Regions from separate parts of the Homo sapiens genome. Here region 2 is linked to region 1. The links are contacts of gene promoters, found by promoter capture Hi-C in blood cells and fetal thymus (Javierre and others, 2016). All regions are on one chromosome and are shown on one strand. Each heading gives the region's core, a stretch centred on a gene start or on the middle of the fragment in contact. The rest is flanking DNA. Distances are from core to core; before and after follow the strand shown. Region 1 holds the start of RNF6 (ring finger protein 6). Region 2 has its middle 70 kb from the start of WASF3.

The links. The method cuts DNA at HindIII sites, captures the fragments that hold promoters and counts their contacts. A CHiCAGO score of 5 or more calls a contact.
Region 2: a fragment that was not itself captured here is called in contact with the fragment with the promoter of RNF6 in region 1 in 3 of 17 cell types (total CD8 T cells, naive CD8 T cells and naive CD4 T cells); the score reaches 7.9 in total CD8 T cells.

What each region holds. Positions count from the first base shown.
Region 1 is chr13:26,220,186-26,224,607 of GRCh38, reverse strand. RNF6 (ring finger protein 6) reads left to right here and starts at 2,294. Exons shown (of 5, transcript NM_005977.4): 1 at 2,294-2,605; 2 at 3,278-3,360. RefSeq lists enhancers at 2,234-2,613, 1,759-2,640, 2,641-3,522 and a silencer at 3,064-3,113. The HindIII fragment of the contact is 7,611 bases long and covers 1-4,369 here.
Region 2 is chr13:26,485,503-26,489,993 of GRCh38, reverse strand. No RefSeq gene overlaps it. Among named protein-coding and RNA genes, the nearest start is that of WASF3, 70 kb to the left of the region's middle. RefSeq lists an enhancer at 3,971-4,482. The HindIII fragment of the contact is 735 bases long and covers 2,293-3,027 here.

The DNA.
Region 1 (4,422 bases), core at 1,045-3,544:
AATTAAGGCTGTCGTTTTATGAAGCCAAAATCTTTTAAACATGACAAGTACATAATTTACCAGATATACAGAGAATCCTTTTAATGTTATGGTTTTAATTATTTTAGATCTTTGTATTCCTAATTGTAAAAAGTCCAGGAGTTACATGAGGCATACACACTACAAAGGCCAGGTACCAATCCAATAAACAGAAATTAATTAGACCAGAGACCTTGGCAGGTTCTGAGACCTGGAGTAGATATCCAGAATGATTCATCTGTCTGTTCCAGCTGTTGTATCTAAGCCCCTCTTTGTAGTCATTTTGTCTTGGACTACAAAAACTGAAGCAAGGTGTTGGATTCAAGTTACATACATTACCTGATTCTCTACTCACAAAAACCTGCAACTTCCTACCTGGTAAATCACTTGATTGGATTTTTATTTAGACATTTTTATAATAGTTTTTTTTTTATTCTTAGGGTATATAATAGGAAATAGGAAAAATAGGAAGAGACACATATGTCTTTTCCACTCAACATGTAAAAAGTATTTGCACTTGGATTATTGCATTTGATTGCACTCTCCAAAATTCACAGATATTAAAAATGATTTCTACTTGTTATTTTCTATGATGTGTGTTCACAATATCTGAAGTCGTTGTACTGTGTGCATTAATCCCGTTTGCCAAAAGATTGCATTTTTCTCTGCTCATCTATGCAGTAGGCTGAGGAGAATGTTCTGCCAAGTGCTGTGCTAAGTTCTGGGATTACAAAAATGAATTAGACCATTTGATCACACTTAAGCAGTTCAGACTCTAGGTAGTAAAGACCTAAAAACAGAAAATCATCTTAAGTATTTGCTCAATGGCTCTTTTTCCATGGGAAAAGAGGGCAAGGACTTCATTCTATGAGGACATGACTGTCTGATTCACGGCTGTCATCACCAGCACCTAATACATAGTCACACTCACTATTTGTTAAATACATGAATACATGCTAAAATAGGGTTTTATATATAGAGGGAGTATGGGAGCCCCCAAAAGGGACATTTGCTTAGTTTTATGTGTAAATATCGGGCTGGAGGGTGAGGTAAGGGTGTTATTTCAGAGGTATCAGGAAAAATTCCTTAAAGATGAGAACTGAGCTGAGTTTTGGGAGACAGAGGAAATTAGGTAAAAGTGGAGTTGGGGGTTGCTTAGGAGTTCCCATATCTTGTGGCGGAACTTCAAGCAGTTTCGGAGTGCCAAGACAACAGCCTGTAAATGTAAGCAGAAGAAAGATCTGGAAGGGCTTTCTAGGCTGTTTTATATATTTCCATTTTAGTATCCATATCCATATGCTTATTTTAAACACTTGTCCATAGATCCTTACTACACTGGTAGCTCATTGATGCTAAGGACTGCATGTAGCTTGTTATCCAGGTGCCCAGCATAATAATGGGGATATGGTAGTTCCTCAAAAGTTAATGCAGAAATGAAAGAACAAACGGAAGAATAACAAGTAACGGCATTGTGAGCACTCTCCAGTGATGAAGTCATCAGATGGTAGGGATGTCAGGAAAGGGGACTATACCAGGTTAGACAGAGACCTACTCAGCATCTTAACTAACGGTGAGGTAAGTTTAGTAAGCCTCACATCTCAGAAATAAAATCAGAGGGAGGAATGTTGGGAGTTTCAAACTGCTTTCCTAGCGGGAAGGTGAAAAAACACAAAATATAGTGGGGTGCGGTGCCTCATGCCTGTAATCCCATTTTGCTGAGGTGAGAGGATTGCTTGAGGCCGAGTACGAAACCAGCCTGGGCAACATAGCGAGACCCCCGTCTCTACAAAAGAAAAAATGTGAAATTAATGGCAAGCGCCTGTAGTTCCAGCTACTGGGATGAGGAGGGAGGATCGCTGGAGGCTGCAGTGAGCTACGATCGCTCTAGCCTGGGCGACAGGATGAGACCTTGTCTCAAATAGAGATAGACAGACAGACAGACTTCAGAATTTATTAGGGTTTGTAATTTCCAGGTTCCAAAGCACAGCAAGGGAAAGGGCCTGGCTGGGTAGTACGTTACACCCGGAAGTAAAGAGACGCATACACCGTTGGGTGCACTTTATAGTCTGGCTGGCAAACGAGCGACACCGACGCGCAGAGTTAAGTGCTGGGACTTCCCAAGCCTGGAAAGCAGACCGTGTCTCTGCAACTACGCGGCTGCCACGAGCGCTGAGCGGCCGGGCATTTGGCCTCGAGGAGGAGGCACTGTAAGGGCGGCGCAAGAGGGCGGAACGCGGGACGCCAGGCACCCTAGCTCCCGACGGACGCAGTTTTCAGTTGCACGGGCGAGCTCCGGGCCGGCTGCGGAGCGACTCCCCGCCGCCAAGTGGGCGGCGTGGCTGTCGGGAAAGAAGGGCTGGGGCCTGCCGTTCTTCCTCCCGAGTATCCCCTCCAGCTGGACGACCCCACGCTGCAGCACGGGCTTCCGGCTTCTCTCCTCAGTGGCCAATTCGAGGGCACAGCGGGCTCCGGAGGCGCGGCGGCAAGCCTATCCCGCCTCCCAACCACAGCCTCCAGCACCCGAGAGAACGGCCGCCCACAGCACACGTTCTCCGGACAGGAGGGCGAAGGCCCAAGACCTGGAGAGGTGGGCTCGAGGGAAAGATCTGGGTCCCACCACTACTTCCTGGAGACGCCGGGGAAAGCAGGCCATCCTTCGAGCCACCCATCTCTTCTCCGATTGGTTAACTGCCTTCTTATTGCGCTCCGCTGGCTGGTGATTGGTTGGGATGCACCGTCTATCACCTGCTTCCTTGTGAGAATCTAGGTCTCTAAGGGAAGCGTTACTTGAGGCTCGGTTGGGAAGAGGTTGGTTGGGCCTCTTGAGCCCACTTTATTTATCGTAGTGGGGATCGTCCCCCGGCGCGAGCTTCCGTCGCAACGGCCGGGAAAGAAACCAGTAGCGGGACGGAGGGCGGGGGTGGCAAGAAAGTCAAGGTTTAGAAGTAAGCCGGAGACGCCTAACCCTGGTAACATCCGAATGGGAACGGGATAGGAAGGAAGGCCTTTGAGAGAGGAGGCGTAAACCCAGGAACAGTGACAGTGTAGGACGAAAGGCCTAAGTTTGTTGCGGAAGGTAGGGGCCTTGCGGGAGGTTTTCGTGACCTAATTGTATGGGGATCTAATTTTCTAGATGTGTCTAACAAAATCCACTGGAGAATTTGCTTTGGCTTTGCAGCAGAGTGGGGAGACTACCACCCGTTCCTGGCCTTTAAAGAAACAGTTTATTGAATTATTCAACTCTCTTTTATTGCTTCAGATGGGCAGCTCTCAAAAAAGGCACAAACAATTGAAGGATGGATACCATGGCATATGTTAAAAGCGTGTTGAAAGGAAAATAAGGTATTCGCTTTGTTTTCATTGTGATTAACTGTATAAGAAAATTACCTTTAAGGAGAAGCTCAAGTTTTAAATAATATTAGGGTAACTTGATTTTATGATAGGCTTCAACTTGTAAAATTATTTATTACAAAAATCCTATTATTGCTGTACCTACGAAATATGCTCTTTGCTAATTATGGTCTTAATCTGAAGATAGAGATCTTGAGTTTTTAGTAGTGTTAATTCATATTTGAGTGGATAATGTTACTAGGTCATTTGTTCAAAATGACATAATAAAATAACCACAGTGAAAAAAATCCTTGAATTTGTAATTTAGTGTTACAGGTGAAATTGAATAGTTGCTTACTCCAACAGTATTTTAGACTTGTAGGCTAATTTCACCTTATATTTAAAGCAGCTTGCTTATTAAATACCTAGTGTATTTCGAGAGGCAGAGTTGCACAGTTGCTTCACTGGTAGCCTAGCCATTTGAGCCTCCAGCCTCTACTGAGTCAGGTGCTGTATTACTCATACCCTTTAGTGACATGCCAGAAATTGTCGAGGAATAGTTTATTTCATCTGCAGAACACCCAAATTAGCTCTTAACAGCAGACCTGGTCCTACCCTGGAAAACTCTAATCAAGGATTGGGGATGAGATTTGGGCATCTAGATTTTTAAAAATACCCTTAAGTGAGTTTGAGAACCATTGCTTTAGTGTGACTTACTGAATAGATGTATTTAAGAAATTCTAAAATATTTGTGAAACAAACATCTTTCTCTCTTGATTTCCATGTAATTTAAAAGTGAGCTTCTCAGGAGTGACACTTAAATATAATCCAAAAATAGTGGTTTCTTAGGCAAAGTCAGGAAGTTTCACTGGCATTCTGAAACTCCTGGGACTAACCATTCCAGGCTTAAGGATGAGGCTTGATATGGGGTGATACAAAGTGCTCTGATGCACTTTCACAATCCTTGAGCCATACATGATGTCTTGTTTCCTGTTGGGTTTCAAAGTCTTCCTGGTAAGCTTTAATAAGAGACCACCTTCCAGTTTGTTCAGTAGATATTAATTAGGCTAAATG
Region 2 (4,491 bases), core at 1,411-3,910, 270 kb before region 1:
AAGCAGGATCTCTTAGGTTAGGTCTCAGGAACGAGACCTAGTTAGGTCTCCCCATGTGATTCCAATGGCATCCAAGTTTAGGGAACTAAAGGGTGGCCAGCTGAGTCACATGAAATTGAACCTGATGCCGATGAAGCGGTTTCTATTGAAATTAACATAACAATCTCCAGGAGACAGAGCTTTGGACAAAAAGCCCTCCGGTCCAGATCAATTGGAGGAGAGGCCATCGTGGTCCATGGTGTTCAGATTTACAGAGACAATTATTTCCATCATGGGATGTATAGAATAGAGGCAAACACAGTGTCATCATTGTAGCCATCTAAGGGTTACCATTCGCCCTGCTGGGAGGAACCCAAATCAGGAGATGAAGGAATAAATTCAGAAGTAACATTCACACACTGTGCTTAGGAAACTCTACTAAAGGCTGTTCCTGGGAAGAGTGGGCTGTATATTAGCAAGAGCCTGAAAATCAAAGGGAAAGAGCTTAAGGAGTAGTTACCTGGTAGACTAGGTATTTCTCTATTCATTTGTTCACTCAACATTCAATGTGTGTTTATTGAGCACTTACCTATTATGTGCCAGGGAGAAGTTCTTACGAAAAGCAAGAGTTGACAGCATGGAGCAGTCCCTGTGTGTGTCAGCTGCTCAGCAGTGGCCACCAGAAGAAAATTGTCAGGGACCCTCCAAAGAAAGATGAGAAGGTATCGTGGGCGAAAACAGCAGAGATAGATAGGAGCTGCATCATCTTCATCCCGATCTGAAATGGAATCAAATCATCCTCGGAGATCTCAATCTGCCCACCCTTAGGGAAATGAGTGAGAATGGCCAGGAACCTATCCTCAGGGAGGCTCTGGCCTCTTCATTCCTCCATGGCACCATGTCTACTGTGTGCCAGGCATGTGCTGGGATTGGAAACATGAAGCAGACATGGCCCACCTTTCAAGGAGCTCGCAGCTTAGTAGGAAAAGAGCCAGAGTGGAGTTGCATTTCAGACAGCAGTTAGGTAGATTCTCAAGTCAACATTAAGGAGAAAATCAAGTCTAACCAAAATTACCTTGGGAGAAAAGAATTCTCCAGGGAGATCAGAGGCTGGTGTCTGAAACACAGCCTCTAGTAAACACAACGCAGCCAGTTTTCCTGCAGCATTGGGACAGATGGCCGTCTCTGTGGCTGAGCACCAGAGGAAGCAATCGGCTTGGCTTGCATTTCGAGGTCATGTTGTATGAAAAAGATGTATTGTCACTCTAAACACTGGTGTGCGAGATGCTCGCACCTCGGAGAGGCTCAGAATTGGATGCAAACGTTGGCAGATCCGCTCTCTGGGGCATATGCTTATTGCGGGGAAGGGCTGGCAGAATCACACACTTTATTTACATTGTTTTTCGTTTAAAGTTTTCTTTGAGCACCTACAGTTGAATTCGCTTAAGCTAAATGTGGATGTAATGGGACCAATTGAGAAAAGGCGATTGGGAGGCCACTGGAAGTGTGACACCCTTGCCAGAGGAGGTGAGACTTAGGACGGGAAGATGCCGCAGGCGCCCCTTTCTCCAAGGCGCTGAGCATTCCAGAGGGGCCAGCCACGGGGTCCAGTATTTGTGTGAATGCTGAAGCAAGAGGGAGAGTCCCACCTGACTTCTCCCCCATCCTCTGCAGAAGACCCCACCCCATGAGAACCCTCTAGTGGCCTTGCAAGGAGGGAGAGGAGGCAGGGTCCCTTCAGAAAAGGTCTCAGGGCCCTGCCTCTGCATCCTCTATATGGCCTCCTTCCCTGGAGACCTCACAGGAGACTTAGCCCTCGTTCTCTTCCTAAAGTCAAACCAGAGGCACTGCATGGAGGTCCGGGTGGAGCGTCGCCCTCATCAGTTCTGTCCTGGGCCCTGGAAGGAGCTGGGCCACCTGTGCGGTTTACGGGGGCCTGTCATCACTGCTCCCTGCTTGTCTTCTGACCTTCCCCCTCTGACAAGCCTGTTCCCTCCCAGCCCACGCCTGGAGTCGCCTGCTGGCCTGGCCAGCCTTGTCTGACTTTTTTGCTGAAGAAGGGGATCGGGCTAGATTCCAGCGGCTGGCTGGCTTCCCAGGTTGTGGCAGGCCTTGCCCACTTGGGGGACATCTTGCCTTGTTTGCCCATTGGGGCCATCGTGTAGACAGACCCTTGCTTGGCTTTGTAGCTCCAACCAAGGATCTGAAGGTGGACTTCCGGAAACACATTCCTGCCCAGCTAAGGCGCCAGAGGTCCTGCAGGTGGAGGGAGACTCCTGGGATGGCCAAGGATGCTCACCGTTCCACGAAGCTTGCTGAATAGTTATGACACTCTTGGGGCTTACCTCTCTAGGCTAACCACCCTACAACACGTGCTCACAAAGAGAGAGAGGTTTTCTGCTTTATGGCTGCTCCAACCTCGTGTGGTCTCGTGTCCCTTCCTGTTCTTGCAGGATCGCTGCACTGACCTCCGCATGAGAGGAGAGGGCAGAATGTGGCCCACCTCTCATCCTGAGGAAGCAGGGGCCGTCCACGGCCTCCCCACTGTCCGATCACTCCAGGTGGCATAGACCCTTTCTTGTGCTTGTTTGTATGTGATTTTCATGTTTTCGTGCCTGACAAGGGGAAGTGGTTAGTATACAAGTGGCACATCAACACCATTCTGGTCATTCTTTCTAAATGGAATTTTCCAACAATTTTTATTTCCAGAAGTCCCATGGATCCAAACAGACAAACAACAGAAGAGCAAAGGGAAATAAATGGTTATGAGTGTTCATCATAGAAGCACAAAGAGCAAAGCTCCTTGCAAAGTCCTTGAGGCCTCCTGCCTCAGACCTTCCCTGGTTCTCTGTCCCCAGGCATCATCAGCTGATGCAGAAGGGACTCTGCCTATCTTTAGACAGAGAGAAATCAGGATCAGGGCTCTGCCACCTTCTCTGCTAAGTCCACTAACCTCCTGCTATTCACTTCATCTCTCTTTGGCCTGTGTCTCATGTTTTATTAAATTTTATTAAATGTCCTTTCTGGTTCCCATCACCTCTGGAAGCTTGCTTTTGTCTGGCCACCACCAGAACAAGCCAGGGAGGGAGGCACCTTGTTCCCACAGTGGCACCAGGTATCTGTTAAATGAATGAATTCAAGTGTGCCGCCTGCCCTGGTTAATAGTCACCACGCTGGGGAGGAGCACCAGCACCTCGGTCCTCATAGATTAAGATTGTGGCTAAGAGGATGGAAGCTGTGTAAAGCAGAGCCAGAGCACAGTTGGCTGCAGCTAGAGATCCCTGTCCCTGGCCCGCACTCCCAGCCTGCACTCCCTCCCCATCCTCTCGTCTGGGACACACACATCTTGCCTGTCTCTTACAAGCCAGAGCCAAAAAAGAAAGCAGATATTAACCCAACTAAGAAACTAAAAGGAACAGCAACAAGTAAAGAGATTAAGACGAACAAAATGTGAGAAGGAGATATAAAAGGGTAGTAATTTGTTTTTACGAATAAATGTATTCAGGTAAGTAAAAATTAAGATGTGGATGATAAAAGGGTGTCAGCTTCAGGAAACTAAAATGATTTATAAGTCACACTAAAAGGAATGAGGAAAATTTTAAAGATAGAAGACAAAACGTTAAGGGAAAAATTCTAGACAACAACAGGAAGGAAATTAAGGTGGTTAAAAATGGATCAAGTTGTAAACTAGAGGCCTCAGATCTTAAAGAATTAGAAAGCTGAGTAAAGTAAGCAACTTTCTATGTAAACTAATAAAATATTTTTAAACAGTGCAGAAAACGAAGGCTCTTAAGGCTATTAACCCGGGCAGGCAACACACATGGAAGGTCACTGCAAATAAGATGCCAATACTTTAGAAGCCAGCAGTGGGGGTTCCTGGAGTCTCCTCAGGCAGAGGTCACTGTGGTGAAGGGTCCCTAGCAGGCCTCGGCAGGGCCCAGGTCGCCGACTGTCCACCTTGCCTCGGGCAGCCGGTCCCTGTTCTCTCTGTTCCTTCTGAAGTGCTGGTGAGGTCTGAGGGCCCTGGCCTTTGAAAAGTGCTGCCTTTCCTGAGTCTGGCTCAAGCCTCAGAGCGCGTGAGACTCATGCTGGGAGTGAGAGCCTCTCCCCCTCCCGTGACATCCCCTGCTCCCTCCCACTGTGGCACAGGATGGATGATCACATGTGGGTTTCTGCACACTCCTCGTTTTGGGGCACAAACAAGGTAAAAGGCCCTTTTGGGCTCCAGAAAAGAGTAACAGCGAAAAGACAGATGACAGAGGACAGAAATAACGTTTAGGTATGAATATTTCAAGCTACTTACAAAAGCTAGCTCACTCAGTTGGCAATAGCAGTGTGTCCATTGTACAGGGGGAAACCCTGAGGCCTGTGACCCGTTTCCCATCCCCTTTAGCCGCCACAGTACCGCACACTGTGCTGGTTTCAGCGCTTTCGCATCTGATTCTCAGTTCTTTCTGTTTTTCATTGAAGCCATATTTGTTTTCTCTTCAGCCTGCTGATTTCTGGCCCGTC